Linked DNA regions of Homo sapiens: regions 2, 3, 4, 5, 6 and 7 are each linked to region 1. Evidence: promoter capture Hi-C in 16 types of primary human blood cells and fetal thymus (Javierre and others, 2016). All regions are on one chromosome and are shown on one strand. Each heading gives the region's core, a stretch centred on a gene start or on the middle of the fragment in contact. The rest is flanking DNA. Distances are from core to core; before and after follow the strand shown. Region 1 holds the start of LSMEM1 (leucine rich single-pass membrane protein 1). Region 2 has its middle 310 kb from the start of SMIM30. Region 3 overlaps DOCK4 (dedicator of cytokinesis 4). Region 4 overlaps DOCK4 (dedicator of cytokinesis 4). Region 5 overlaps DOCK4 (dedicator of cytokinesis 4). Region 6 overlaps DOCK4 (dedicator of cytokinesis 4). Region 7 overlaps DOCK4 (dedicator of cytokinesis 4).

Region 1 (4,335 bases), core at 732-3,231:
AGTCATGGACTAAAAATTTTTTTTAGGGTTAAAACTAAAAAAGTGTGTTTCACTTATCTTGAAATTTTAATTAACAAGAACAAACAATTCCCTGAGTTTTCAGATAAGATACTACCATAGCACTTTATTGACATTACTGAATTCCAAATATACTTCATAGAGCATTCCTAAGGAAATGACTTGATATGACAATTAAAAAAAATTAAAAAGCAGCAGCAAATAGAGTAAAAGGGCCTTAGAGGTCAGTCAAATCTTATCCTTTTGCAGTTAAAACCAAGGCCCCAAAATATTCACTCATGCATAGTCACAGATTTTAAAACAATTCTTTTAGATGTGTTTCATATTTTATCATCCATTTATACTAATATTTGACCAAACAGTAATATGTGACCAGGAAAAAAAGTTTTATGTGTCACATCACAGGACCACTGTTCTGCACACAGCTTCTATTTTAGGTGTGGTAACTGAAGCATGGTTCATTTTTGGATCTCTGACTTAATAGCCTTGAGCCTTAGCTTCCCCTTCAGGAATGTATCTGCTGTTGCTTCAATTTCATACTGAGGCTTAATCAATGTTTACAAAATAGAGACCTAGCTAGAAAATCATGGCCACAAAAACTGACTTTAAGAGTACAGCTAATAAAATCTCCATATTACTGGTCTTGCTATCTACTCAAAAGGTGACTCCAAAAAAAACTAAGACAACAACCTAGTGAGCCATGACGTGCTTTGAAAGAAAATGTCTTCTTTAGAGTGAAGTCACAATGTAAATATATGCTATTCCAATATTTTTTTAATGAGCTGCAACACGCAAATGGAAAAATAAAGAACTAGCAGAGAAAACTGAGTTGGGTGCTGTTCCAGGGCTCCAAGAGCCTGCAAATGACTTGCAAATGACTCATGAGGCTGCTAGTAAAGGGATACAAGATCACATGGCCTTAAAACCAGGCCCCACGGCTGTTTGACACCCAGTAGTTGCTATCTTTGGCATCTCCAAATGAGGGCATCTAGGAACAACCAGCAAGGCTGGAGAAGCCAGTGTTACTAGCAATTCTTCATCACACTAACTTGACCCTCCTTTCAACTCCAGTGTGCAAATTTGCTTATTCACCAAGATTGGCTAAAGCAGCATCCCTTTAACAGAACCCTTTCTTATACCTTGACTGGAAACATGTAAGTAATTTCATTTTCCTCTGGTTTAGATCACTGCTAACAGTTGATTTTTTGTCATTTAAGAATTCTTTGACTATTTACAAATAAATATTCCAACAAATAAAGATAATTGTCTATGAAAAATTGCCTGGTGCTTTATTTTTTAACCAGGCAGGTGCTTGGTATCAAACCACAGAAATAACTCACACCAGTATTGCTTGCCACAAAATCAGAATTGTTATAATAGGGCATAATTCAAAGCTAATAAGCAGTGTTATTGAATGAGTCATGGTAATTTGTTCTTTAATTTCATTTCCCAGTCAATGCCTCTTCACATTCAGGAAGTAATTTTTAAAATCAAGTCTAAATCATTTCTATCAAAAATGAAAAACACAGAGCACATGCAACAAAAACTTCCCAGACTCGAGAATCATAATTCAGTCTCAGTAGAGTAATAGCATGCAAATTACTTACAAAAATGTGAGCTTTGACTGCTAGGTTACCAGAAAAACAAAACAAAACAAAACAAACAAACAAAAACTAATTGTTCAGAAGCAACTACAACAAAACTTTTCTACAAATTCTGTAGTTCTCTCTTTGCCTTTCTTCAGCATACGGGTGCTCCTATGAGACCCATAAGCCCCAGGATGAAACTGTTGGTCTATATTGTGTCAATTTAGCCAAGCAGTGTAAGATTCCAAATCCTGACTTTTTTCATAATGTCTAAGGTTTTTAGTAAATATATTACTAAAACTATGCTTTAAAAAGAAAACAACAAAAAAACACCATGCCCTGATTTAGTTGGTAACTGATGAGGTTTTTATTGGACTGAAGTTACCGTCCTTATCTGGCTGAAGCAACTGTTAGCTGACACCACCTTTCCAGCACTCCTGCCATGGTATGCTTCCATATATAAATATCCTGTAGCAGGCGGAAGCTGCCACTATGATGACTGACTTGCAAACACTCCAGACAAACCAGAGAACTGCAATAAACACGGACAGAATATGATTATGACATCATAACAAGGATGATGGCAGGTCAGACGCCTAGTGCTTCCAGTAGCTACAAAAAGCGATTGTGAGTGGGCGATTTCATGGATACAGACCCACCACAGGTGAAGGAAGCACTCCATCTCATCGGCCGCCTTTCCTTTACAAAGGCTTTGTTCTGTGAGTGTCTGCACATCCTCCTTTCTCAGGAATAACAGCCTTCCATATATGTGGTTCCCTCACATACATGCCAAGGAGCTTCTGCCCTCTGCTGTACATAAAAGATGCTACAGTGATGAGGAGACCAACTATCTCAGCAGGATACTAACAGTGAGGTTGTGAACAACTGTGCAATCCTTTATCATCCTCACTTCCATTGCCATAGCTTGATGGACATTATTCATCTTTGAAACATTTTTCATGTCAGTGAGAAAATAGGTGTTCCACAAAATTTTCTTTGAGACAGAGTCTTGCTGTGTTGCCCAGGCTGGAGCGCAGTGGCATGATCCCAGCCTACTGAGACCTTCCTGCTTCCAGATTCTCCTGCCTCAGCCTCCCAAGTAGCTGGGATTACAGGTATGTGCCACCATAGCTGGCTAATTTCTTTATTTTTAGTAGAGATGGGGTTTCACCATGTTGGTCAGGCTAGTCTTGAACTCCTGACCTCAAGTGATCCACCCACCTCGGCCTCCCAAAGTGCTGGGATTACAAACTTGAGCCACCATGCCCGGCCCAAAATTTTCTTTACACCTATATCCCATACGGACCTCACTCTGCTTTGGGGGAAGAGGAATGTCATTTTTTTTTTCCCTTCACACTACCTAGTCTAAGAGGGAATGTCATTTTTTCAAGCCTCATCTGTACCCAAAGACTAATTCTTGGAGGAAGACAATATAACTAGTAACTTTTCTCAGAAACATACGTTAAAAAGCTATGTCAAATTTCTCTGAATAATGAAAATGTTCATGTTAGCTATTATGCTGTTTTTAAGAAATCTCCCAACTACCTGATCTGCCTTGAGCCATGTATCCTTTGAAGATATAATAGAAGTAACTGCCTCATTTTGGGGCGTTTACTACTTTTCCTCTCCTGTAACTTCTAACTTTGTGGAATATTAACTTCCCCTGAAGGAGGAAGGAAATGGAGACTAAGGAATTTAATTGTTGAGGGATACACTGATTATAAGTGGCAGAGATGAGATGTAAACCCATACCTCGCATTCAAGTCTGAATTGAACTATACACCAGTGAGGGGGATAAGACTGCCTTTAGACCAGTTAGACTTCTGGAAAGCCACTTAAGAACAAAGCAAGACAACCTACTTCATTTTAACTATAACATACCTGCAAGACCACCTTTAAGAAGAGTTTTGGGGCCGAGTGCGGTGGCTCATGCCTGTATTCCCAGCACTTTGGGAGGCCGAGACAGGCAGATTAACTGAGGTCGGAAGTTCGAGACCAGCCTGACCAACAAGGAGAAACCCCATCTCTACTAAAAATACAAAATTAGCCGGGTGTGGTGGCACATGCATGTAATCCCAGCAACTCAGGAGGCTGAGGCAGATTATACCATTGGACTCCAGCCTGGGCAACAAAAACGAAACTTCATCTCAAAAGAAAAAAAAAGAGTTTTGGGTCACAAAAAGAGATATTCTCACATGAAGTGTCTAATCTAGGGACATTCTCAAGTATTTGCTTTTTCTTTCATATATTACATCTCAGGGTATCTAAATTCACTCCCAGGAAATTTAGTACCCATCAAAGAGGAGTCACAGACAATGAATACTTCAAAATGCTTGAGCCTCAAAATAATGAAAGCGGGCAAAATTAATCAAGAATCAAGCAATGAACAACTAGTCTATAACACAACATTTTTCTACTTTCAAGAAAACACAAGCATTCTTACACATTGAACACCCAGCCACCCTTGTCTAGCAGTTACCACAAGTTTCATGAATAAAGTCACCTGCATATAAATTCAACATGCAGATTAACACTCTATACCTTCTTCCTCCCAAAAGCCCAGTAAAAAAGCAGGAGTACAAATTACAAAACCAGAAAAATTAAAATAGGAAGAAACAATACTGAAGAGCTCAATAAATGTATTGAACATGGTAAGAAGAGTGGTATCTGCCTTAGCAGGGCTATCACAGATGAGTGACAGTAGGACTGATCCTGCAGAATTCAGGCAGGC
Region 2 (4,335 bases), core at 1,359-3,858, 940 kb before region 1:
AATAGTTATATATTTATTCATTCATTTCTACTCTTGATAGACATTTGAGCCATTTTTCAGTTTTTGATGAACATTCTTGTGCATGTATTTTAATAATAATAGTTAAGTATTTCTGTTGAGTATATTATTGTTGGGACAGAGAATACGTGTGTGTTGAGTTTTAATAGATGCTGTCAAATAGTTTTCTAAAGTAGTTTTACCATTTATACTCCCATCAGCTGTGCGTGAGATTTCTACCTACTCCACATACTCAACAATATGTGATGTTGTCAGTAATTTTCATTTTAGCCTTTCTAGTTTGTATGTAGTGGTATTACATTGTGGTTTTAATTTCTATTTCCTTGATGACTTATAAATGTACTCATCTTCTCACATGTTTTTTGGCTTCTTAGATACTCTCTTTTGTAAAGTATTTGCTCAAATATTTGCCTATTTTAAATTAAGTTGTCTGACTTTTATGAACTTAAAGGAGTTCTTTATATATTTTGAATACAAGTCCTTTGCTATAGCTATTTATTTAAAATATCTTCCATTGTGTGACTGCTCTTTCCCTCTTTAAGGGTGTCTTTTGATGTACAAACATACCTAATTTCAATATATGTAATGTACTTAATGCTGAAATATTGAAAGTTTTCCCCGAAACTGGAAACATGACAATTACTATTTATTGTCAACTGTTTTATTCTCTATACAGTTATGCATCACTTATCAATCAACTGGGATATGTTCTATGAAGTATTCCATTAGGCAATTTCATCATTGTGCAAACATCATGGAGTATACTTACATAAACCTAGATAGTATAGCCTATTTACTACACACCCAGACTATATGGAATAACCTTTTGCTCCTAGGCTACAAACCTGTATAGCAAACTACTATACTGAATACTATAGGCAATTATAACAAAATGATAAGTATTTGTATATCTAAGCATAGAAAGAACACAGTAAAAATATGGTATAAAAGATAAAAATGGTCTCCTGTATAGAGCACTTACCATGAATGGAGCTTGCAGGGCTGGAAATTGCTCTGGGTGGGTCACTGAGTGAGTGATGAGTGAATGTGAAGGCTCAGGACATTACTGTACACTGCTGAAGGCTTTATAAACACTGTATACTTAGGCTGCATTACATTTATTAAAATTTGTTCTTTCTTCAATGATAAATTAACCTTAGCTTACTACAACTTTTTACTTTATAAGCTTTTAAATCATTTTTTAAAACTGTTTGACTCTTTCATAGTAACATATAGCTTAAAACACAAACACATTGTACAACTGCACAAAAATATTTTCTGTCTTTACATTCTTATCAGATAAGCTTTTTCTAATTTTAAAACTTTTAATTTTAAAAAAACTTTTAAAACTTTTTTATTACAAACTAAGATGCACAGAGTCAGGATCATCAATATCACTGTCCTCTGTTTCTACATCTTGTTCCACTGGAAGGTCTTCAGGGGCAATAACACGAAAGGAGCTGTCATCTCCTATGACAATAATGCCTTCTGAAATACCTTCTGAAGGACTTGCCTGAGGCAGTTTTACAGTTAGCTTTAAAAAAATAAATAGAAGAGGTACATTCTAAAATAACAATAACAACTATAATATAATAAACATATAAACCAGTAACATAGTTGTTTATTATCATCATCAGTATTATATACTGTACATAATACTTTTATATGGCTGGCAGCATAGTAGGTTTGTTTAAATCAGTATCACCACAAATATATTAGTAATGCATTGCACTATGGTGTTATGACTGCTGTGACATTACTAGACAATAGGATTTTTTCAGCTTTATTATAATCTTTATTATTATTATGCAGAGACAGGGTCTCGCTATATTGTCCAGGCTGGTTTCAAACTCCTGGCCTCAAGGAATCCTCCCACCTTGGCCTTCCAAAGCACTGGGATTATAGGTATGAGCCACCGCCATCGTACGCTTATGGAACTACTGCCTTATAATGTGGTCTATTGTTGATTAAACTGTCTTTATGCGGGGCATGCTGTACCAGCCATAAACAAACATAAAACGAAATTTTAAAGCAATACTATTTATAAGAGTATGCATAAACATCAAATACCTAAAAACAAATCTAACAAAAAAGAGTTGTAAGATCTCTATAACGAAAACTGCAAAACATGATGGAGGAAATTTAAAGTCCTAAATAAATGGAGACATATACTATGTTCACGTATTTAAAGACTTCTGTAAAGATACCAATTACCATCAAGCTGATCTATAGATCAAATTCAATCAATAGATTAAATTCCAAACACTCTCAGTGGAAATTGATGAATTAATTTTTTGCACTTTATTTTAAAGAATAAGGGGCCAAAAATAACCAAGACAATGTTAAAAAACAAAGCTAGAGGTCCTTAAACTTGAAGTTTTTTAGTACGTCAGAATTATTTTACTATCATATTTATTTTATCAGTATGTTCTACTTAGCTTAGACAAATTGCTGCTTGTCCTAAATCCCTCCAGTTGTTTGAACTGAGTGGTCCTAAGCTTTGTTACAGTAGATCCCTAAAGAATTGTTTATCAGAGTTGTAGTTGGCCCCACTGTTACAAGGGACCCAACCCTTGTGGAAACTGGACATACCTTGAGCTTTGTTTTGGGCACATCCCTTATTTGCTTTTAGTGCATTTTCCTTTTGCTTTTCTTTTTTCCTCTTATAATCTCTAAGCTTCTTGCCTTTACTTATGCCTTTTATCTTAGTCTTTTAACTTTCATTTTAATATTTTAATCTCATTAATTGCTAATCTCTTTCCCTTCATTTTAAAGCCCAACTATTTTGTCTTATTATTTTTAGCCCAAAGTTTGGGAATAAAAAGTTGACTTCCCTGTGGGCTAGTCTTTCAGTTATTAGTTCTCACCAAACTCATTTGTGAACAGAACCATGAGGAGCTGAATAGTAGACAGTTTAATTGAGAAACCTTATACTCATTGAGGTCTAAAAATAGTATTTGTTTGTCTTGTATCTGCTGCCCACTGTTCTCTAACCCCCTCCCTGATAAGTAACAGAAATTCTAATTATTCTTGTATGTATCTGGTTAATAATCAATCAATCAAAAATATTAGTAATGTCATATGTACTCTTTGATGTTCTAATCCCTTTCCTTAATTTCCCTATTTTGCAGATGAGGAAGTTTGGATTAAGAAACCTGCCCAGGCTCGCCCGCTAGAAAGTCATAGAGGCAAGGTTTGAACCCTGGCAGTTTGACTTTAGAGCCCATAACCATTATAAAAAGCTCATTGAGAGAAACCATTACTTATGTAAGATAGCTCTTAATATATTTAGTATATTCATTTTTCATCAAGGGCTTTTATCTAACATACTTGAATAGGCCTCATGACTTCATAAAATCCTTGAATTTGAAGGAGACTTCTATGTGTATACAGTTCAGTTCTTGATATTTGCAGTAGTTGTGCTTTATAAAGTGACCATGAACACAGAATTAGCAAATACTGAGTCATTGCTCCTAGAGGAAATTTAGTGTTATTTTCCTTGGAAAAATACAGAGATAAGCTTTTGCGAGCATCTGGGAACAACATTTCTTATCAACTGATTAATACATAACCTTGTTTTATGTGTGTTTCTGTTTAAAGACATCATATTTAATATTTATTGTTAATTTATTACCAGTGAACTCATGGCCAACATCACTATAAATCATTCCTGAATAAAGCGTATCTAACATACATTTTCTGCATAAGGCACATCCCAGCCTTCTCGTGCTTAGGAACATTAAACAGCACTTCAGCACCATGCTTGGGAGCCATTTTAAACAGAGAAATCATTAACAAAATGCAAAAAATGTGAAAAAAAATGTGGCACTAAAGGATACTCGTTTACAGTTTGAGATCGGAAACAAAAAAGCAAAGTGTCACCCGTTTCCACATCAGCTGGGAATGTGCACATCAGGAAATTCAAAGTTTTTGATGTTTTGCACATGCATACATCTGATAATGACTTTGAAAGGACCTATGGTCTTTGAGGTTACAAGTACACTTTAGTGCGTAGGTGAATTCACAAATTCAGAATCTGTGAATAATGAGGACCAATTGTATATTATCTGCTGAGAAGAAGAAGCTTAGTGATCAGCAGATCCTTAAAAAAGTCTGTGACCTCTCACTCCTTAAGGCCAAAACCAAGACCCGGAATAAGTTAAAGTTACTAGATTATTTGACTCAGGCTAAGCGTATTGAGGATATCACGAGTGAACAGTATTATATTTGCACTTTGTATAATTCCTTCTACTGTATTTTGGTGTGAACAGCAATGTTTCACACTGAGGACTAAGGAACTACCTATGTAAATACACC
Region 3 (4,335 bases), core at 1,060-3,559, 710 kb after region 1:
TTTTTTAATTGTGCATAACATAAAATTTACCATCTTAACCATTTTTAAGTGTACAGTTCAGTGGTATTAAGTATAGTCACATTGTCGTGCTACCATTACCACCATCCACCGACAGAACTTTTCTTTTTTTTTGAGATGGGGGTCTCACTCTATCACCCAGATTGGTCTTGAACTCACATGATCCTCCTGACTCAGCCTCCCAAGTAGCTGGGACTACAGGCGTATGCCACCACACCTAGCTAATTTTAAAATACATTTTTTTAGAGACGAGGACTCACTGTGTTACCAAGGCTGATCTTAAACTCTTGGCCTCAGCCTCCTGAGTACCTGAGACTACAGGTGCAGAACTTTTCTCATCTTCCCAAACTGAAACTCTGTACCCATTAAACACTAACTCCCCATTCCTCTTACCCCTGGCAACAACTATTCTACTTTCTGTCTCTGTAAATTTGACTTTCATCGCCCTTGAAGTCATCACTGCCTGTGGGCAGCCGTGGGAAGGACATTCCTCAGTCTTCCTAATTCTTCGAAATGATCAGTTAGTCTCTGGGGTATTTTCTGAGTAGTCACATGCTGACAGAGACACAAAAGAAATTTGAGTGACAAAGAAGGTAACTCCTGAGCTGGGTCATTAAGAGAAAGTAGGAGTTATTTCAGCAAAGGGGGAAAGAAGGTCTTGCAGGCACAAGCTGTGAGGCCCTTAGGTGTGAATCAGAGAGGTATGTGAGAGGAAGCACAGCTTGTTCGGATGACAAGAGCAAAGAGTGTGGATGCAAGAACAAAAATATGCGTAGGGTTTCCTTAGATACTTAGCGTTTATTATAATGATACATGGGGAATTAAACATCAGGAAATCATCTCAGGGATGTCAGAGAAAACTAGATGCCTGTTAAAATAACAGCACCCTTCTGAGGATCTGGTTATTATAATTCTTGTGCAATCAGAGTAGTCTTCCATGGCTACCTATGTTATGGTGATTCAGCTCTGTGTCTGTGTCCGCCAGTTAACTGACACCCTTTAGTGGCTGCTTTCTCTGTCCATCTCACGTTCAATCCCATTAAGAAAGAGACCAGCAAGAGTGCATGCAACAGAAGGCATCACTGTCCCCGTCGGGCAGCTTTCTTGTGCCCAGCTGCCTCTGGACCACAATGCATCTTGCTCATTCCTGGAAAGTGGATAATGGGGTCCGGGGGCTCCAACTATGAGGACTGGAGCCTCAGCAGCTACTGAAGCTTCTTAAAAGAGATGGAGGTGGGCTCTTTCATACCTGTACTACATGGAGACCCAGTGAGAAAATGTGGATAGAGAGCTTGGTAAGAACCAGATCATGAGCAACCTTCTCTGTCACTGTAGGAGGCCTAAATTTATTGTTTGAGCTACTGAGAGTCATGGACTGGTTTTAACCATGATCATTTATTTGCATTGAAAGAAGTTCATATTGCTAACTGTGCAAACTGAATGGAGGGGGATAAGAGACTGCTGGTGGATTAGGAAAGCTTTCACAATAATAATTGAACCAGGAGATTGTATAAGCTCACCAAAGGTAATTGAAGAGAAAAAAGACCAGTGCCTGTGATAGGGGCCCTGGCCCTTCTTATTGCAACTATCTTTTTTACATGGAGATGGCCACATCATAGCATTATAACTCAGCATATTACTTTAGGGCTTTATGTGTAGTTACCCTAAAGGCAAATAAATGAAGAAAAGGAATTACCATTATTGATACCATCTTAAAAGCTATCATTATGTCTTTTGAGAAACCTGAGGTGGAGTTAAATGGATTAATAACATAAGTATTTGTCCATTTTATTCAATTGAGTAATTGAGTAGGCTATTATGACATTATAGGAAAAATTATTATAGTCCTTTATCAGTGACAATTCTGGTTCCTATTCTTGATCTATTGGGCTATATTTACAATTCAGGAAAAGGAGAGACCTGCAGAATGGCAAGTATCCTGTCAAATACACTATCTGCCAACCATACTTAAATCCATAGGTCACCTTTTCCACTTATGTGTATATGGAAAATCACCCCTTGTTTCTGCAGGAAATCCAACCATGCCAAGCATGTAATGATATCAGTATTCTTTACAGAAGATTTGTGGGGCCATCTGGGGCAAGGCAGTCATATCACACAGCCTGCAACGGTTCTTTCTCTCTCACACACACAAATACACCCACACACCCACACACTCCCCCCACTCCTCATGCAGCACTTCCACCCTCTCCAATCCCTACCCTGTTATTAGATTTTTTCTTTTTCTTTTTTTTTTTTTTTTTGGTCTTCACTCAGCTCCTCTCTGGCTTCTTTGCCCCTTGTAAATTCTGCCTCCACTCTGAACCCCCTCCTCACCAGTTTCGATTTTTCAGCCCTTTATTATCCCAAAGAATTTGCCATTTTTTATTTCCTAAGCCTGCCCTTTGGGGGATGCTCATAGTCCCCAAGGAACTTACTAGTGAACTCTCTCAGCAAACAAAGGCCTGTCTCCCCACATCTTTGAACCAGCAACAGCATGATATCCTTACACATTTTGATTATACTGTAGCATACAGACATTTTAGGGAAGACAAAAACAAAAGACAAAAACAGAAACGAAAATACAGGAAACAAAAGATGAAATACAGATCTGATTAGTCCAAGTCCATCATCCAGGGGAAGTCCTCGTTCATTACCCTACTGCTGCATATATTCTGGATATTTTTCTGCTATATCACGAAATTTAGAAAATAGTATTTTTTTTCCCCAGTTTGTCGGAAACTGGCCACATTTGAGGGAATGTGGCTTGGGGTCCTGTCTCAATCATTGTCTTCTCACGTGACTTGCAGAAGCTGCATATACCCTCCTCTTATATGACGAGCTACTGGAATGGTCTGATCGGCCCCTCAGGGAGTTCCTGACCTACCCCATGCAAACAGAATGGCAGCGCAAAGAGCACCTGCACCTCACCATCATCCAGAACTTTGACAGAGGCAAAGTAAGTGGCCCTGCCCCGCCCGGGGTCCCTCCTGGGGTGATGGTGTTGATGTCCCTTTCCCTTTCATTTCTAGTTTATGAATGCCCACCTCCTTAAGCAGGGATCCTCACATCTTAATGTATATTAGAAACACCCAAAAGCTTGTTAAAATGCAGATTCCTAGGTGCCACTCCTAGCCATTCTGATTCATTTTGATTCTGAATGAGCCATTCTGATTCGTGCCTTGTCTGGCATGAGGCTGGGGAATCTGTGATTTTAACAAGGACCCTAGGAGAGTCCAATGTGCATGACCTTTTCATTACACTTTGATAAACACCGATTTAGAGATTTTGATCCCCAGTAACATAGTCCATTCGTGGCGGCTTTAGCAAAATACCCTAGACTGGGTAGCTTATAAACAACAGAAATTTATTTTTCACATTTCTGAAGGCTGAGAAGTTCAAGATCAAGGCCCTGGCAGATACAGTGTCTGGTGAGGGCCATCTTGCTGTATCTTCACATGGTGAAAGGGGCTGGCTAACTCTCTGGGGCCTCTTTTATAAGGGCACTAATGCCATTCGTGAGGGCTCTACCCTCATGACCTAATCACTTCCAAAGACCCCATTTCCTAATACCATTACCCTGGGGGTTAGGATTTCAACATATGAATTTGTCAGAGACCCAAACATGCAGACCATAGCACGCAGATATTGTATTCTCTGAAAAACCATTATCATCCTTCACACTCTCCCGAAATTGGCATGCATTCTGCTCCATTATACTTTAAGGTAAAATATATGAAACTTAATTTGTTTAAAGAATTTTGTGGCATCCCATCATATACTTAAGAGATGCCTTGAGGTGTTGAAAAAACCTCACTGACTTCATAAAGCAATTCAGTACATCACCTCCCTCCACTTCCTACCCCTCTTCAAGGGCTTGTAGTACTCTTTTAAAAAATTCATGAATCTGACCGCCATTGTTTATTGGATTTGAACACTTGGATGCTTTGGTGGTACATGTCTTAGACTCAAATTTATCTTCCAGATTGCAAAGGTTAAACAGAAAATTAAAATACAACCAATGGCTGTAATTCTTTTACAAAATATAATTGGGTACACGTAAAAATTTGATGCAAGGAAGTTGCTTCTTCCACATCTTCCTTTATTATTTATCTAGGTACACTGACATATCATTACATGAATACCAAAAGAAATGTTTTTGTGCCCTCCTGCTGTAAAGTTTCCACCTGTGGGATAAAGTGGTGCAAACTCTCTGAATTCATTTATTGGTCCATCCCCGGGAGTCTGTGCTAGATCAGGGGTTGCAAACTATGGTCCACAGGTCAAATGGCTCACTGTCTGTTTCTGTACAGCCCC
Region 4 (4,335 bases), core at 1,064-3,563, 690 kb after region 1:
TCATATAAAAAAATCACCCGTAATCTCACCATCCAGAGATAACCTCTGTGGTTAACATTAGGGATATAATACTCTAGACTAAGATATATGTGTGTGTGTGTGTGTGTGTGTGTGTGTATTTTTTAAATTAAAAATATTCCTATACATACTGTATTGCACTTGCTTTTTTGCTTAATTATATTGAAAAACTTCACCTATGTTATCTTTCTTCAGCCTTATGTTAAATGATCACATAAAAATTTTAATGTGTGCATATACAATAATGTACATAACCAATTCCTGATGATTTATTTTATATATATATATATATATATATATATATAATTTTTTTTTTTTGAGACAGAGTCTTGCTCTGTCACCCAGGCTAGAGTGCAGTGGCACGATCTTGGCTCACTGCAAGCTCCGCCTCCCGGGTTCATGCCATTCTCCTGCCTCAGCCTCCCAAGTAGCTGGGACTACAGGCACCCACCACCCCGCCCGGCTAATTGTTTGTATTTTTAGTAGAGATGGGGTTTCACCGTGTTAGCCAGGATGGTCTCGATCTCCTGACCTCGTGATCTGCAGCCTCAGCCTCCCAAAGTGCTGGGATTACAGGCGTGAGCCACTGCACCCAGCCGATTTATATAATTTTTAATTGTATCTCATGGGTTATTATATTTTCTTGCTTGAGGAGACGACTATAATTGAATATATTTCTAGCAATAGTTTTAAACAAATTTTATGATATTAATTTCTGAAATCATATTAAGATTGAATATATTGAAACTCAAATATTTTTCTCACTTTAGGAGAGCACAAGCTTCATTTTATCCCTGCCCTGATTGGCCCCTTCCTAGAAGTGACCTTGATACCCCAGCCAGATCTTCGGAATGTCATGATTCCAATTTTTCATGATATGATGGACTGGGAGCAGAGGCGGAGTGGCAACTTTAAACAGGTAGGCAGAAGTGCTCCTCAGAAGAGTTGGAAGAGTTTCAGCTCTCCTGAAGCATCTGTGAACTTCTGGATTCAACTCCAACTTGGGAAATGAACACTGGGTCAGCAGACCTAGATTCCAGCCTGGCCTATCCACTCCCAAGCCACACAGCCGTGGATACTTCTCAGATCCTGTGTTGTCCTGAGCCTTCAGTGAAGCCCTGAAAACCATTTGATTCCTTTTCAGCTGAAAAATTTTGTGATTTCCCAGATCTGTATTTAAGAACTTGCAGAGACTTTATTTGCACCCAGTTGGACACAGAGCAGAAGAATCAGAGAGTTAATGATTAAACTCATTGAGCTCTCAGTGGTCTGCACATTGTATTTGGCAAATGGCTTAGCTTTGAGCATTTGATTTACAGTATGTTTTATTGCTCTTTGCTTGAAGCATTGAGAATTAATTTAAAGGAGAAAGCTGTGGAAATTCTTACAGAGGAAATTCCAAGGGAATGAGCTTACCATTTCTCATTGACATAGGTTCTAATAGTTATACTCCAGTTTTGGGAAAACAGGCTTATTACAAAACCAGATCTCTGAAGGAATTCACTGCTTTTGCTCTGCCAGGTCCTTCAATTTGGAGATAGTAGGCCTACTGTCTGTTCACACAGTCATGGCACAAACCTGTGTGCCCACAGGGTTTGACCCTTCCTCATGTTTCTCCAGAAGAAGCCTCCCTCAAATCTCAGGAATGGTTGTCAACCAGTCAAGCAATCTGACTGCAGACATGGAACCCTCCTATTGCCAAAAGCATGGGTGTTTCACCTGTATCGGTATACACATTTATTTTCAAGAAAGCTAATAGATGAATGAAAGACTATTTAAAAATTGTACTTAGGAAAGAAAAACCCACTTTCCTTCCCCCTTGTCTTTATCTCTTGATTGAAATTTGGTTTAAAGGAATAATAATTGGGCTTAGTCTTTTGACAAAGTCAAATATTCCTCCCAGTCCCTAATCGTTTTAACTCTCTCTGGCCATAGAGAAGTTTTTCATTTTCTGTCTCTTCTGCCTCAGATAGACATAGATAAAGGGATATTTTTCCATTCCTGATATTCAAGTTCCAAAGGATTTACATCCTGGAAAATATAAATGTTTTGACTACAGTTTTCAGGAAATATGTCCTTTCTCTCTCTTGCTGCTTATTGCTGACTTAGACTATTGCTATGGATCTACCATCTGTACGTGGGTAAGGCAAGTTCTCAACTTCAGCAAAGATTTAGTGCAACCTCAAACTGTTTTGAGAAAGAAAATAGATATAAAACACATCAAAGATTTAAATTAATGTATGTGGATATGTTAGTTTCCTGATGTCCTTATATATAGTGATGTTTAAAAAAAAGAAAAAAGAAACAGGACTTGCCAGTTTTTTAGCTCCTAAAAAAGAATTCAAACGTTTAAACTGGGCTGCAAGCATTTGTGTTTGAATCAACAAATAGATAGATGTCTTTGGCAGCAGTAAACGCTACCCAGCCAGGAGTGTGAAGTCATGTAACTCTATCTAGATTAGTCCCTTAGAATTCCAAAGGGTTGCCTGCTATTAACCGTAGCTGATAATGTCACTTTCACAAAATTTACCATGGCTTTTTCCTTGGCACAAAGAAATACGTTTTAACTTGCCTAGAAATCCTACTTGTGAAGGGGAGGAAAGAGAATAATAGTTGGGTATGTTTCAGGTGGAAGCCAAGCTAATTGACAAACTGGATAGCCTGATGTCAGAAGGCAAAGGTGACGAAACATACCGCGAGCTCTTCAACAGTATGTGAGTAATATGTTTATCTCAAGTTGATTCCATTCTGGGGGATTTGGTGTCAGTACTGAGCCTCTCTGCACCACGGTAGCTGAGAGCTGCAAAGACAGCTTAGGTCTCACAGGAGGGCTTTGTCTTTGTGGAGTGTGAAATAAAGGATAATTGCCTAACTCTGGCGAATGGATCTTATAATGTTGATGATTAGGCATGTCTTCCTGTTTTAATCTCTGATTAGGACAGGTTGCATATGTTACATAACAAATCTCCCTCTTTTCATGCCTGATAATTTTAAAACCATTCCTGCAAGATAATGATTTTAAGTGGGGTTATAAGTGGGAGAGGAGAAAAGGGGTGTGATTGTAATGTTTGTGTGCACTGCTTTCCAAAGCAAGATACTGATGCTGATTTGCTGTTGGAAAATTAACCTAGTTTGCATCTGTTCTTCAACACCTGATTTAATTAATTAATACTGATTGTTCGCTCAGCATTAATTGCTTCCTAAATGCTTTTTATTAGAATATCTCAGAAGCAAATCACTTTTAGTAAATTCTGTGTTTTGGATTTGTATGGAAGATAGAGAAATAATGGAATGCTGTAAAGAGACTTTAAGGTTGCCCTACCCATAGAATCTGATCATAGCCACAGGATGAATTGCTTGTACCAAGTATTCATGCGTTGTGTTTAAATGGCCAGAAGATACAGTGAGAATGTTTTAGTGCTTTGGGATTTCACTTCTGGCACTTGTTTTCTCTACAGCTTCCTATGGATCTTAGTCATTTTCAAATCTAACATATGTGCAAAGTATTTCTTTTTGAAAGAAGAATTTGCTTATTGTGCTTGAAAAATGTTTGCAGTTCTTTCAGAAGTGCAAAATAATGCAGTAACACATTTTTTTCTATGACAAAATATATTCGTGTTTGTATTTATGCCCAAGTATCACCTAAAACTAAATATCAGTGCTTTAGTATTGATGGCCAGGTCCAAAACTTTATGATCATGAATTTACAACAGTAGAAACATTAATATATAGGCTTGAAGAATATAATTAGTGACTAATAGGTTAGATAGATTTCAGCATGCCTGATTAAAAATTATCTTGAAGCTTTTAAGAAAATTACATTAAAAGGAAAAGCCAAGAAGGGTATAGAGATTTCCTGTGGTAGTGGTGGGTGATAAAATATATTCTTTGTACTGGATTCTGAACAGTATCATTTTTTTCTGATATGGTAATTAAATGAGAGGTTTTCATAATTATTCACCAAGACCTCATTCATTCTAGTGTACACAGCTTCAGTCTTTTATGGCAGCTTGGAGTTTAGCAAGAATTCTGATTAAAATCTCATGCAGTATAATAAATTGCTTTTGAAAACTGCTCTCATTTCAGTTACTAGTCCTTGGTTTGAACAAAGAACCAAAATGAGAAAGCACTCAGTGAAATGAATCTCTTGAGATTTGTGATTAATTATTTATAACAAATTCACAAGATTAATAAATACTGACATAGTTCTTTAGTGCCTCTTATCTACTTTAATAAAGGCTTGATAATATGCAATTTCAGTTGCTCATGTATAAATATGACTTTGAAATAGAAGATGTACCTCGACATGAGAATCAA
Region 5 (4,335 bases), core at 533-3,032, 660 kb after region 1:
GATTGACGTTCTTTTTATTCATCCAAGTGGTATGGCCAATAGAGAGCTGAAAATACTGCCCCGAGGAAACTTCAGAACAAAATACAGGCATTTGGGAGGTTATTGACATAAAGTCGATATTGGAATCTCTAGAAGATGATAAATTCAGTTTATATTAAGCATATCCAGCATGATCTGAGAGCAATACTAGAAGAGAGAGGAGGCAGGAAAGGATATTAGGGCAGTCGGAATGGCAGGAGCTGATCCCGGAGAGTACAGTGTCATGGATTTATCTGCTCTCTCCACTTCCTGTCTCCATAGTCTCAAGATACAGAATGGAAAAGTGTTCTAGGAAACTGGCCTGGTCTTCACTTCCAAGCTTGTTATTTACCCTATTTCATTAGCATTGTCACTCTCCAAGCCCACATTTGCCTGCTTCCCCTTCTTCCTCTTTTCCAAACGCCAACACCCTCATGCTCAGGATGAAGGTTGGATTCTCTAAGCATCTATCTGTAGGCCACGGTCGCCCTGTGTTTTCTCCAGATGGCAAGCTTTGATGGTGGTGAGAGCTGCAGGAATATAGGATTCGATTTTGATTATATATGCTCAATATGGCTTCTGCTGCAGTATACATTTATAGACTTGGAGGTGTTAAAATGATGTGTTAAAAACTTTGTGAAGTAACAAATAGTATAACATAGCATATTATATTTTACATAAGTACAGAAGCAGCTTTTCCATTTTGAAGATTGAGAGTGTTGAAATAGCTCTCTTTAGAATTTAACATATTTAGTTTGATATCTGTGAGTAGAATCAAATATCTATTCATTTGGTTGTCCGCATGCTACAGATTTAGGTGGGAGTTTTTGCTCATTCATCTGGCCTTATAACCAAAGAGCAAACATTCTGGGTACCTAGGAAGGGCTGTGAGGTAATCCAAGGAGCCAGATGGGAAGAGGTCCAGGCTATGGACATCATCATCACGCAGCATCAACATTTGGTCATTCTGCCTGACTCATGTGCAGAGGAATATTTTGGATTGAATTAAAATTTCAGTGGTAGAAATTCAAACTGAAAGTAACATTGACATTTTATTCCTTACATATACAATTTCTGCTTAAGCTTGCCTAAAATTGTAACAACCATGTGGCTTTTTGATATTAAATACTGCCTCTCTCTGCCCCATCGTTACTTCAGTTTTAAAGACTTTATGGTCACACAAATGGATAGCAGTCTGAGAGTATAGATTCTACCTTTGCGTAAACACACACTGTTCAGAATTTTCATTTACAGTGTTAACCAAATAGGAAGATGATTTTGTTAGAGATGAGCTCTGTGTAATACATTTAAACAGAAGGTTACTCCCATAGCAAACCCAAGAAATGTGCCATCACCCTTTGCTAAATGTGGTGACTTCATTCCATTGCCACCCATGTGAGTGCTGGTAGGAGTCTGGCGCTGCCTCTCCACTGGCAATGGCTGGTGGCTGCAAGTCCAACCTCATTCATGGACAGGACTCCAGGAACTAGAGAGACCACTGCCAAGTTGGAGCAGCCAGTCTGCTGTATGTTCTTGCTCTTGCCTCTTCTTTCCTCTCCTCTCCTCTTTTAATAGTCTCTAACCATTCTCCTCCATTCAAGTCATGAAAGCAGATGAGGTTTGCTTTGCTTCATAAATGCAGCATAGTCTGAAAATTAGCCCTCTACTATTTGTGCTTTATCTATGAAAAATATTAACCCATATAATATTGGTAGAAAAGTAGATTTCTGAAAGATGTTAAGGACATCTTAAATACGTTAAAGAGCATACACTAGGAAGAAAAAGTTTCCGCTTGGCTAAACCATGTTGAAGCACGTTGCAGGAGTTACATCTATGTCTCTGAAGTTGACCACCTTTTCTTCCATAGTTTCAACTTTCTTAGACAAACATTTTTTCAGGGCCTCTCAAAGGGCATTTTAACCCAAACTCCCACTTTTATTAACCCAGTCGTGTGCTTAATACATGTCAAATTGATAGCAGGTGGCTGAGAAGTCACCATTGCTCTACCCTTGAACTCAATTGAATTGCTCATCCCTCAAAATGAATGTTCTTTTATGTGTTGGTCCTTTCTTCCTCTGTTTTCAAGTAAATTAAATGCCTTTAACTTTCATCTATAAGCTGTGTTGTTCCAAATCTTGTAGCTTGCCTGCTTGGTGTGAAGCTCTGCCAGAGTTTGTGACCAGACACCTGGTGATTTGTATGGTTCCTTGTTTTTTTCTACTGCATGCCTAATATTGTATAACATAGCAAGTGTGCCCACTTATAATTCTGCCAGGGCAAGAAGCATTTCTTCTCTTTCTTGTTTGCTGTAGAGCTATCTCATGACCCCCTGTAAGTTCCTGGTAGATGTTTCTGATGACAACAACTGCTCAATCTAAGAAAGAAGGAACATAAGGAAGATGAAAATTAAGTACCAAAAATACAGGACACTTTGAGACAAGCTTCTCTCCACCCCCTTCCCATACACATTGTGAAATAAAGTACAAAAATAAAGTCACAGCTTTATACATATTTTCAAGAAGAAAAACCTTATAACACACTTGCTTACTGAGGAAGGTAAAAACTCCTTCTCTCTTCAGTTGAAATTTCAGGTCTTTATTTTGGTTATCTTGTGTGCATGTTGGCCTCAAACATATCATGCACTAACCAACTTGGGTTTCAAATGAGATCTATGTAGCCAAAAAGCGATTTGTTAAATCAAAGTTTCTTAGAGAGGTTGTCCATTCATTTACTGACCCACTTATTCAGCCAGTATTTTCCAGTGCCTGATGTGTAAAATAAGTACTATAAAGACAAAGAGCACCGTGATATGAGGGTGTTATGAAGTGAACATTGTTCTGGACTAGAATAGGAGGGGTCTTTCATGAAGGAGTGAAGCTTGAACTGAAAGCTTAGCAGGGGGTAACAAACAGCAAAGGAATAATGATTCTATCAGTAGGTAGCATCTACAAAGGCCCTGTGGCCAGAGTAAATGTGGCACACTCAAGGAACTGAAAGACTGTTAGTGTGGCTGAAATGTGGGGAGGGAAGGAACCAGTAAAGATGAGGTTGGTGGAGGAAGACAGAACCCAGATATTGATATGTGGAGAGACCAAAGAGAAACCAGGGAGAACCAGTTAGGAGCTTACTGCAGCCATCCAGGTAAGAGATGTTGATGATGACTTGGACGGGCGGATAGCAATGAAGGTAGTGAGAAGATTGGTTTTGGAAATAAGGATGATAAGACTTGCAAGTGACTGGGTGTGGGTGGGAGAGAAGAAAAGTAACGGAAGGTGTTCCTTAGATGCTTGGCCTAAGTAAAAGGATGAATTGTGCCATTCACCTAGTTGGAAAAAATGGAAAGAGGAGTAGCATTGGGGATGAGAGAAGTGAAGAATTCCATGTTGAACATAAGTTTGAGGTGTACTAGATATTCAAGTGGAGATGTAGAAGGGAAAGCTAGACATGCTTGCATGGAGCTCAGGGATGATGTTGGGGCTGGACATGTGCGTTTGGGCTCCTCAGCATATGGTTAGGATTTGAAACCTTGGAACTGAACAAGAGCACTGAGGAAGAAAGTGCAGACTGAAAAGAGAAAAAGACAGGACTGAGCCCTAGGGCATGCCACATTTTAAAGGTCAGGAAGTGGAGAGGTATCCAGTGAAGAAGACTGAAAAAGAGCAGCCTATGATGTAAGATGAGAACCAGCAGAGTACAGTATCCTGTGAAGAAAGCATTTCAAGAAGGAAGCAGTATCTAGAGCTGCTGGGAGGTTGGTGGTGATGTGGACAGACAATTGGTCCCAGGATTTGGCAGTGTGGTAGATATTGGTGACCATGACAAGTGTTGTTTCAGTGGAGTGGTGAAAAGGAAAACCTAATTAGAGTGAATAGGAGTTGAGAAACTGAAAATAGTAATTACAGGAAGAGTTTTGCTGTCAAAGGGAGCATAGAAACAGGGCTGTATCTGGAAGGAGATGTGAGGACTGGGATTCCTTTTAGAATATGGGATATTACAGCATGTTGATTTACTAATAGGCATGGCCCTGTTAGTAAAAGACAGAAATATTGGTGCTAAAGAAAACAGGGATAATTAAAAGAGCAATGTCCTTGGGCAAGCAGGGATAGGATTGCATGCAAGGTTGCTAGGTATGCCAGCCCAAGAACTAACTGCTACCTGTCCATGACAAGCTTTCACTTAAAAATAAATCTTCAGTGTAAGCATGCAGTTTAATTAAACTGACATTGTTTTTTGTGGTAAGACTTTCTCAAGGAGGGAAGCTTCCCGCACTTAGAGCAGCATTGATCTAGTGCACACAAAGAAAGGTAGGAGCGTCGA
Region 6 (4,335 bases), core at 1,270-3,769, 640 kb after region 1:
TTGCCCCTCCATGCTACCTCATCCCCAAGCAACTACTGACCTGCTTTTTGTAGTAACTTATCTATTACTGTACATAAGTTTACATTTTTTAGAATTTGATATGAATGGAATCATGTAGTACATAGCTATTATTATTAATCATATACTACATAGTTTTTTGGGGGGCATAGGGGCAGGGGATTCTGTCTTGACACAATATATTTGAGTTTCATCCTTATTCTTTTGTATATCAATAGTTTATTCCTTCTTATTGCTGAATAGTATTCCATTGTATGGATATACTGCAGTTTGTTTATTCATTCACCTCTTGGTAGACATTTGAGTTGTTCCTGGGTTTGGCTATTGTGTTCCATTTACCTGTTTTTCTGTTTTGACACCAGTAACATACTATCTTGATTGTCATGTTTTATAATAAATCTTAAAGTCAGTAAGTGTAAGTCTTCCAACTTTACTTTTCTTTTTCAAAGTTGTTTTGACTATTTTAGATCCTTTTCACTCCTTATGGATTTTAAAGTTAGATCAGCCTTTCAATTTCTAATCCCCAAAGCTATGCTAGGATAATTACTGGGATTGCATTGAATCTATATATCGATTTGGGGATAATTGACATCTTTTTTTTTTTTTTTTTTTTTTTTTTGAGGTAGGGTTTCGCTAATGTCACCCATGCTGGAATGCAGTGGTGCAATCTTGGCTCACTGCAACCTCCACCTCCTGGGTTCAAGCAATTCTCCTGCCTCAGCCTCCCAAGTAGCTGGGATTACAGGCTTGTGCCACTACACCCGGCTAATTTTGTATTTTTAGTAGAGCTCAGGTTTCACCATGTTGGCCAGGTTGGTCTCAAACTCCTGACCTCAGGTGACTCACCCGCCTCAGCCTCCCAAAGTACTGGGATTATAGGCATGAGCCACCACGCCCAGCCAAAATTGACATCTTAACAATATTGCATTTCCCAATCCATGAACATGTAATATCTTCATTTTTTTTAAGTATTTAACTCCACCCCTCAGTGTTTTGCAGCCTTCAGTGTGCAGATTTTATACATCTTTTGTCAAATAGATCAGTAATTATTTCATATTTTAATGATATTATTTTAAATTTCAATTTCTGATTGTTCATTTTTAGTGTGTAGAAGTAAAATTTATTTTTGTACATTGATCTTATATTTTGGAATGTAAATAAACTCAATTAGTTCCAGTAGCTCTTTATCAATTTCATAGCTTTTTCTATATACACAGCTACGCTTTCTGTGAAGAAAGACAGCTTTTTAAAAATTCCTTTCAAACCTGTATTCCTGATTGCCTTTTCTTGCCTTATTGCACTGACTAAAACCTTCAGTACAATGTTGAATAGAGGTGGTGAATAAGCTTTGGGAGGTTTGAAAAGTCTTTATTTTGTCTTTGCTTTTGGAAGATATTTTTATATTTTATATTTTGGAAGATATTTTTCTTGGTTAATAGTTTTTGGGGTTTTTTTTCCTTTTAGTTCTCTGAAGCTGTTGCTCCGTTGTCTTTCAGCTTGTGTTCTTTCCAAGAGAAATCTTTTCTCATCTTTGTCTTTGTTCTTCTCTATGTAATGTGCCCCTTTTTTTTCTGAATAGTGTTTTAAGATTTTCTCTACCACTGGCTATAAGCAATTTGATTATGATGTGCCTTGGTGTAATTTTCTTCTTGTTTCTTGTGCTTGGGGTTTGTGGAGATTTTTTGATATACAGGTTTATAATTTTCAAAGAGTTTGAAAAAGTTTTTTTCTCATTTCTTCAATTATTTTTTCTGTCTCTTCCTTCTCTCTGAGACTTTCAGTTACATAGATATTCTGCTACTTGAAGTTGTCCTCCAGTTCACTGATGCTTTTTTCTGTTTTTCTTTTTATTTCAGTTTTTTCTGTCTATGCTTTATTTTGGAGAATTTCTACTGCCCTACCTTTCAAGTTCAATAATCTTTTCTTCTGCAGTGTCTAATCTGCCACTCGACCCATTCAATTAATATTCATCTCACAAATTGTAGCCTTCATCTCTAGAAGTTTAATTTGGGCTCTTTTTATGTCTTCCATGTCTCTAAATTAACATATTCAGTCTTTCCTCTAGCTTCCTGAAAAATTAGAATACAGTAATATAACTATGTTAATGTTCTTGTGTGGTAATTCTATTATCTATGTCATTTCTGGATCTGTTTCTATTGATATATTACTTTTTCTCCTCATTTGCGTCATTTTTTCCTTCTTCTTGACCTGCCTGGTGATTTTTCATTGCATGCCAGTTATTGTGAATTTTACATTGTTGACAGGTGGATTTTTTTAATTTCTAAAAAATATCTGAGCTTTGCTATAGAGTGAGGTTAAATTTATTGGAAACTATTTGATCATTTTAGGTCTTGCTTTTGAAATTTGTGAGGTAGGACCAGAACAGCATTACTCTAGGAGTAGTTTTTCTCCAGTACTAAGGAAACACTGTTTTTGGTACTCTAACTAATGCCTTATTAATTGTGAGGTTTTTCCAGTCTGGCTGGTATTAAAAAAAAAAAAAGGCTCTATTATTCCCAGTCCTGTGTGAGCACAAGGCACTGTTCTCTCAATCCTTCTAGATCATTCTTTTCCTAGTGTTGGGTTGGGTTACTACCTTACACACATATACAAAAATATTAATAATATTGCCTTTAAACTTTTTATTTCTTTTGTTAAATATCAAGGATTCCCATGTTCATTAACAAAGTATATGTTGAGCTTGAAGGATGTTTCTTCTGGCCCACACTGGTTAGTTTCTTGAATATTTACCCTAAAAAATGTATATAGATAATTATTTGTCATACCTGTGTGTTGCAAATGATTATCTGCAAACAGAGATCTAGCCTGAGTACCTGGTTGCCTTGACATGGTCTTTAAGTATTATAGCATCCTTGGGTCTCCCATGGCAGTGGGCGAGGATACATTGAATTTTCCTCACCCAGCTGCTTCTGTTGAAAAATTCCCTTCTCAGGGCTTTTAGTCTCTACTTATAAAGTCTGTAGTCTCTTTCCATGTAAAATCTAAGAAACCAGTTCCCAATTAAATTGCACTTCTGTAAATATACAGTTAGTTACCAGTGATTGCCTCTCCTATTGTATTTGTTTTGTTTTAAATGTTATTACTCTGTTTAAAAGTAGATAAATTCTTTGCTGAGCACAAAAGGTTGCATTGAAAATGCAAGCATTTTAAATTAGAAGTTCATTCAAAAATGCAAGTGATAGCAATTTTATGTAGGTCTTCAAATCCATAGATGCTATGTTTACTTTTTTATTGTTAATTTTTAAGAATTAGAATTTATGGTTACAAATCACATAGAGCCCAAGCACAAAAAGAATGGCCAATTAAAAAAATTGTTTTCAATCTTCCAAGACATCTGAATAAAACTATTTTTTAAAAGGAGATTGAAATGAACATTATGCAACATATGGCATTCATTATACCCTGTGAGTCAGCAGATCAACTCTCTGATGAGTTGGAGGAGGTCATTTGAATTCAAAAATGGAGCATGAAGCTACAGGAAGGGCTTTGGAGGCAGAAAGACTGGGGATAATGCCAGCTCTGCTACTTTCTAGCTGAGTGACTTGGGGCAAGTCATTTAGCACATCAGAAACTACATTTTACCTTCTTCAAAAAGGTATTATACCCCCTACCTCATAGTGTTGATATGAAGCTTAAATGTTAGAATTATTACAGACATGTTAAATGCTCAGTAAATGATCATAAACCCTCGGTGCCTTACCTTCTTTAAATGTGTGAAGTTAGTTCCCAAGTGAAAAGCTTCCACTCAAGTTAAAAAAAAAAATCCTCCCTAAAATTATAAATTTGTGAATACCAAGTAAATAAATGGTAATCATCATAGGGAGTTTTGGCTGTGACATTTTGGATAATTTATATTAAGAAGACTTCACAGGGCAAGTTTGGATCATCGTGATTTCATTTTAACCTATTCTCTTTGAGGACAGTTCAGTGTAAGTTACTGATGTTCTTTTACGTCCTTACTAAAAATAAAATGTATGCTTTTTTTTTTTTTAACTTAGGGGGAGTTTGTTGCTTGTCTCCTGTCCCTATTACGACAAATGACAGATAGACATTATCAACAGCTTCTTGATAGTTTTAATACAAAGGAAGAACTAAGGGTAAGTGACATTTTAAAATGTTTTCTTTAACATATCTTTTGGGTTTATCTTGTTTTTATTCATCACTGTTGAGATAAATCCTAGACAATTGCTTTACCTGTTTCCATTAAGTTCTAAGCTGTTTTTCTCAGCCTCATCCACAGATCTGCTCATCTATATTGGCTTTTAAAGATTTCTATTACTCAAGCAAAGCTATTAA
Region 7 (4,335 bases), core at 561-3,060, 630 kb after region 1:
AGTAGCAAAAGCTACTGAATAGCTGGGTGCGGTCGCTCACGCCTGTAATCCCAGCACTTTGGGAGGCCAAGGCAGGTGGATCACCTGAGGTCAGGAGTTTGAGACTAGCCTGGCCAACATGGTGGAACCCTGTCTCTACTAATGTAGCAAGATGAGCCACAGACAGAACTCCTCAGACACCGAGTTAAAGAAGGAAGGGCTTTATTCGGCTGGGAGCATCGGCAAGACCCACGTCTCAAAAACTGAGCTCCCCGAGTGAGCAATTCCTGTCCCTCTTGAGGGTTACAACTCTAAGGGGGTCCGTGTGAGAGGGTCGTGATCGATTGAGCAGGCAGGGGGCTGCATGCACTGGTAATTAGAATGGAACAGAACAGGACAGGGATTTTCACAGTGCTTTTCCATACAATGTCTGTAATCTATAGATAACATAACCGATTAGGTCAGGGGTTGATCTTTAACTACCAGGCCCAGGGTGTGGCACCAGGCTGTCTGCCTGTGAATTTCATTTCTGCCTTTTAATTTTCATTTCTTCTTTCTTTGGAGGCAGAAATTGGGCATAAGACAATATGAGGGGTGGTCTCCTCCCTTACTAAAAATATAAAAATTAGCCAGGTGCAGTGGACTGCACCTGAAGCCCCAGCTAGTCCCGAGGCTGAGGCAGGAGAATCACTTGCACCTGTGAGGAGGTTGCAGTGAGCCGAGATCATGCCACTGCACTCCAGCCTGGGCAACAGAGCAAGACTCCATCTAAAGCAAAAAAAAAACCAAACAACAACAACAACAAAAAGCTACTGAATAAATGATGTGTATTTAAAAAAATCTTATTGGAAAAGCAACTTTTTGAGCTCAGGATGAGCATGAATATGACAATAAAACAGTGTGTGGCAGGGTGGCTATGTAGGAGTCCCAGGCCAGGAGGTGGCGTAACTACCAAAAGTAAGATGTACACAGTACATGTGTCTTGCTTTAGGAAGGATGCCTGAGGTGGAGGCATTCAGGGTGGGATTAAAGCCAGTGGGTGGGATCTGGGAGCTTAATACAGGGATCATCCGTAGCCCTCCACTGTTGCTTTCCTCTGTGATCCTGACATTGTCTGCATGAGAACGTAGCCCACTGAATCTGCAGTCCTTTCCTCTCTGAGTTCTTGTTGTCTGTATTCCAGTGTCTGAAAGGCTTGTTTGCAGGTTTTGCGACTGGCTCTGACTTTGGCAGTTCAATTCCTGGTGGCTTTGATCACAGAGGCCCATCCCAGCTCTGATGTCAGGCTTTCTGTAGTCAGCAGCTCTGCTACATGCAAAGCTGTGCTGCCACATGTCCTTCTGCCTCCCTTGTTTACAATCTCCCCGTACTGAGGCCGCCCCTCAGCAGTGCCCACGTCCAGCCCATGCTAGAGCCCAGTTTGTGGAATGTAACGGCCAACCCTTGTGTGCTGCCATGGAACTCACAGACCTCGCGCTCTTGGTGACTGATGCTGACTTCAAGGATCCCTGTCTAAAGCTTGTTGATAGAGGAGGCAAAAGTATGACTCCTCAAAATTAACCTAAAGGAGGAAATCTACCCAGCTTCCCTTGTTCCTTCCTAGTCCCGTGTCCAGTGGGGATTACTGATGGGAGCTGGCTGTATATCCACTCAAGTGTAGACCAAAAAAGTAAATGAGAGTCACTCCTTATACACTCAAGGAGACATACAACACAGTGAGCTTTATCTGAGATGTGGAATATGAGTGTATCGGCCCTCTCAAGGAGAGAACCTGCACGGCAGATTCTGTTGTTAAATGCATGGAAAGTTAGTGAATGTTCAACTTGGATTGTTTTATGGGGGGTCTTATTTGATGGGCCTGGTTGTTTTCTTTTAAAGGTAAGAATTAGCATATCAACCAGTCAGCTTGTTTGGCATTTACCCACCCAGTCTATCAATTGCACTGGCTGGCATTGCCCAAGTAATGGAGAAAAAGCAAATCTGCAAGCTGGGTTGTTATGTATTTCTTTGTATACATGCCACACACAAATTATTTGTCCACCTTACTTACTTTTTTGCAGTTGATATTTTCTTAACAATTGGCTGCAAATTGAATTTTTAGAAATCAAATCCCCCTAGCTGAAGGAACATATCAGATAAGCTTTATCTTCCTTTCTAATTAAACATTACTAGGCAATGACTACTGGCACTTAAATTTTCAGGGTTTTTTTTTTTTTTTCTGGTTCTTTTTGTTAAGTAATTGATTTGTAAATAAGTATTTAAGTTCCCTGGTGAGGCTTACTGTTTAAAGAAGGCTTGCAATGAATTATTTTACAAGTTTGGATTTGAATATTCTGTATTTGTTTTCTTAATGTATAGAATGCCTGTGCCTTATGTTGTCTGTTTTGATGCTAAACCTGAGGCCAGACCTGGTTATTTTGGTAACCCAGTGGCAGGCATCAAAAGAAATAGGAGACTCCGGCTGAGTATGGTGGCTCACGCCTGTAATCCTAGCACTTTGGAAGGCCAAGAAGGATGAATTGCCTGAGCGGAGGAGTTCAAGACCAGCCTGGGGAATATGGTGAAACCCCGTCTCTACTAAAAATACAAAACATTAGCCGGGCATGGCGGCGAATGCCTGTAATCCCAGCTACTCAGGAGGCTGAGACAGGAGAATCACTGAACCCAGGAGGCGGAAGTTGCAGTGAGCCGAGATCGTGCCATTGCACTCCAGCCTGGATGACAGAGTGAGACTCTGTCTCAAGAAAAAAAAAAAAAAAAAAAAGGAAGGAGAGAGAGAGAGAGAGAGGCACTTTCACAGTTGTGGATGCTTTATTTGCACTCCTTATCACTTTTAGTAGCATACAGAATCACTTTTATCTATAGATATAGGATAAAATTGAAAGAGGAAGAAAGGAGAATAACACTTACATAGCACTCATTGCATTCCAAGCACTGCTAGCTAATATGATCCGTAAAACAATCCCAGGAGGAGTTACCATTGCTAGCCTCGTTTTACAGATGAAAAGACTGAGGCTAGTATTTCACGGAACTGGAACTCTAATCTAAGCAGTCTAATTCTTGGGTCCTCAAGTAGAAAGAAGGCAACAAATAGGGATCTTAAACAGGGTCAGTGGTGCAAGTCAAGTAGAATTTTTAATTTTGATCAAATGTAATTTATCACTTACCTTTGATAGTTTGAGGTTTTGTACCTGTTTAAGAAATCTGTATCTAACTCAGAGTCACTAGGATTTTCTTCTATGTTTTCTTTCAGAAATTTTTTTTTTTTTTTTTTTTTTGAGATGGAGTCTTGCTCTGTCTCCCAGGCTGGAGTGCAGTGGTGCAATCTTGGCTCACTGCAACCTCTGCCTCCCAGGTTCAAGCGATTCTCCTGCCTCAGCCTCCCTAGTAGCTGGGACTTACAGGCGCGTGCCGCCACGCCCAGCTAATTTTTTGTATTTTTAGTAGAGACGGGGTTTCATTGTGTTAGCCAGCATGGGCTCAATCTCCTGACCTCGTGATCCACCCGTCTCAGCCTCCCAAAGTGCTGGGATTACAGGTGTGAGCCACCGCACCCGGCTTTTTCAGAACTTTTATACCTTTAGCCTTTGCATTTTAGGTCTATGATCTATACCAAGTTAAATTTTGCATTTGGTGTAAGGTAAGGATAGAGGGTTTTTGTTTTTGTTTTTAACATATGTGTATCCAATTGTTCTAGCATCATTTGTTGAAGAAAACTATTGTTTCTCCATTGAATTACCTCGGCATCTGTTAAAGTAAAAAATAATTAATGACATTTGCTGAGGATGGTAAGTGTTACACGCGTCCGTGTGAAGAGACCACCAAACAGGCTTTGTGTGAGCAATAAAGCTTTTTAATCACTTCGGTGTAGGTGGACTGAGTCCGAAAAAGGAGTCAGCAAAGGGAGATGGGTGGGGCAGTTTTATGGGATTTGGGTAGATAATGGAAAATTACAGTTAAAGGGGGTTGTTCTCTTGAGGGCAGGGGTGGGGGTCACAAGGTGCTGGGTGGGAAGCTTCTGAGACTCATTGTCCAGGAGAAGGAATGTCACAAGGTCAATTGATCAGTTAGGGTGGGGCAGGAACAAATCACAGTGGTGGAATGTCATCAGTTAAGGCAGGAACTGACTAATTTCACTTATTTTGTGGTTCTTCAGTTGCTTCAGGCCATCTGTTTATATATGTGCAGGTCACAGGGGGTATGATGGGTTAGCTTGGGCTCTGAGGACAGTACGTCAGGCTTTTTTCAAGGTGAGGGTCATGGTGATAGGTGTGGGGGTGGCTGCAAAAGGATTTTGCAATAAGGGAGAAAGATTGGGCTGAATTTCTAATGTAGCATGGGTAAGTGGGACTTCAT

Evidence for each region. The method cuts DNA at HindIII sites, captures the fragments that hold promoters and counts their contacts. A CHiCAGO score of 5 or more calls a contact.
Region 2: a contact is called between a fragment that was not itself captured here and the fragment with the promoter of LSMEM1 in region 1, in 3 of 17 cell types (total CD8 T cells, non-activated CD4 T cells and total B cells). The highest score is 5.7, in total CD8 T cells.
Region 3: a fragment that was not itself captured here is called in contact with the fragment with the promoter of LSMEM1 in region 1 in 6 of 17 cell types (fetal thymus, naive CD4 T cells, activated CD4 T cells and 3 more); the score reaches 11.5 in fetal thymus.
Region 4: a fragment that was not itself captured here is called in contact with the fragment with the promoter of LSMEM1 in region 1 in 2 of 17 cell types (fetal thymus and naive CD8 T cells); the score reaches 6.8 in fetal thymus.
Region 5: a fragment that was not itself captured here is called in contact with the fragment with the promoter of LSMEM1 in region 1 in 1 of 17 cell types (M1 macrophages); the score reaches 5.3 in M1 macrophages.
Region 6: a contact is called between a fragment that was not itself captured here and the fragment with the promoter of LSMEM1 in region 1, in 1 of 17 cell types (neutrophils). The highest score is 5.3, in neutrophils.
Region 7: a contact is called between a fragment that was not itself captured here and the fragment with the promoter of LSMEM1 in region 1, in 1 of 17 cell types (fetal thymus). The highest score is 7.0, in fetal thymus.

Annotation. Positions count from the first base shown.
Region 1 is chr7:112,478,637-112,482,971 of GRCh38, reverse strand. LSMEM1 (leucine rich single-pass membrane protein 1) reads right to left here and starts at 1,981. Exons shown (of 4, transcript NM_182597.3): 1 at 1,626-1,981. The HindIII fragment of the contact is 7,612 bases long and covers 1-4,335 here.
Region 2 is chr7:113,423,780-113,428,114 of GRCh38, reverse strand. No RefSeq gene overlaps it. Among named protein-coding and RNA genes, the nearest start is that of SMIM30, 310 kb to the right of the region's middle. The HindIII fragment of the contact is 179 bases long and covers 2,519-2,697 here.
Region 3 is chr7:111,768,171-111,772,505 of GRCh38, reverse strand. It overlaps DOCK4 (dedicator of cytokinesis 4), which reads left to right. Exons shown (of 53, transcript NM_001363540.2): 37 at 2,829-2,977. Among named protein-coding and RNA genes, the nearest start is that of DOCK4-AS1, 38 kb to the left of the region's middle. The HindIII fragment of the contact is 1,621 bases long and covers 1,499-3,119 here.
Region 4 is chr7:111,787,059-111,791,393 of GRCh38, reverse strand. DOCK4 (dedicator of cytokinesis 4) reads left to right here. Exons shown (of 53, transcript NM_001363540.2): 31 at 789-937; 32 at 2,647-2,732. Among named protein-coding and RNA genes, the nearest start is that of DOCK4-AS1, 19 kb to the left of the region's middle. The HindIII fragment of the contact is 3,023 bases long and covers 802-3,824 here.
Region 5 is chr7:111,817,435-111,821,769 of GRCh38, reverse strand. All of the region lies in intron 27 of DOCK4 (dedicator of cytokinesis 4), which reads left to right. DOCK4-AS1 (DOCK4 antisense RNA 1) reads right to left here. Exons shown (of 2, transcript NR_103806.1): 2 at 1-2,392. Among named protein-coding and RNA genes, the nearest start is that of DOCK4-AS1, 11 kb to the right of the region's middle. The HindIII fragment of the contact is 1,358 bases long and covers 1,104-2,461 here.
Region 6 is chr7:111,834,389-111,838,723 of GRCh38, reverse strand. It overlaps DOCK4 (dedicator of cytokinesis 4), which reads left to right. Exons shown (of 53, transcript NM_001363540.2): 26 at 4,038-4,136. Among named protein-coding and RNA genes, the nearest start is that of DOCK4-AS1, 28 kb to the right of the region's middle. The HindIII fragment of the contact is 2,306 bases long and covers 1,367-3,672 here.
Region 7 is chr7:111,850,367-111,854,701 of GRCh38, reverse strand. The region is part of intron 23 of DOCK4 (dedicator of cytokinesis 4); the gene reads left to right. Among named protein-coding and RNA genes, the nearest start is that of DOCK4-AS1, 44 kb to the right of the region's middle. The HindIII fragment of the contact is 622 bases long and covers 1,500-2,121 here.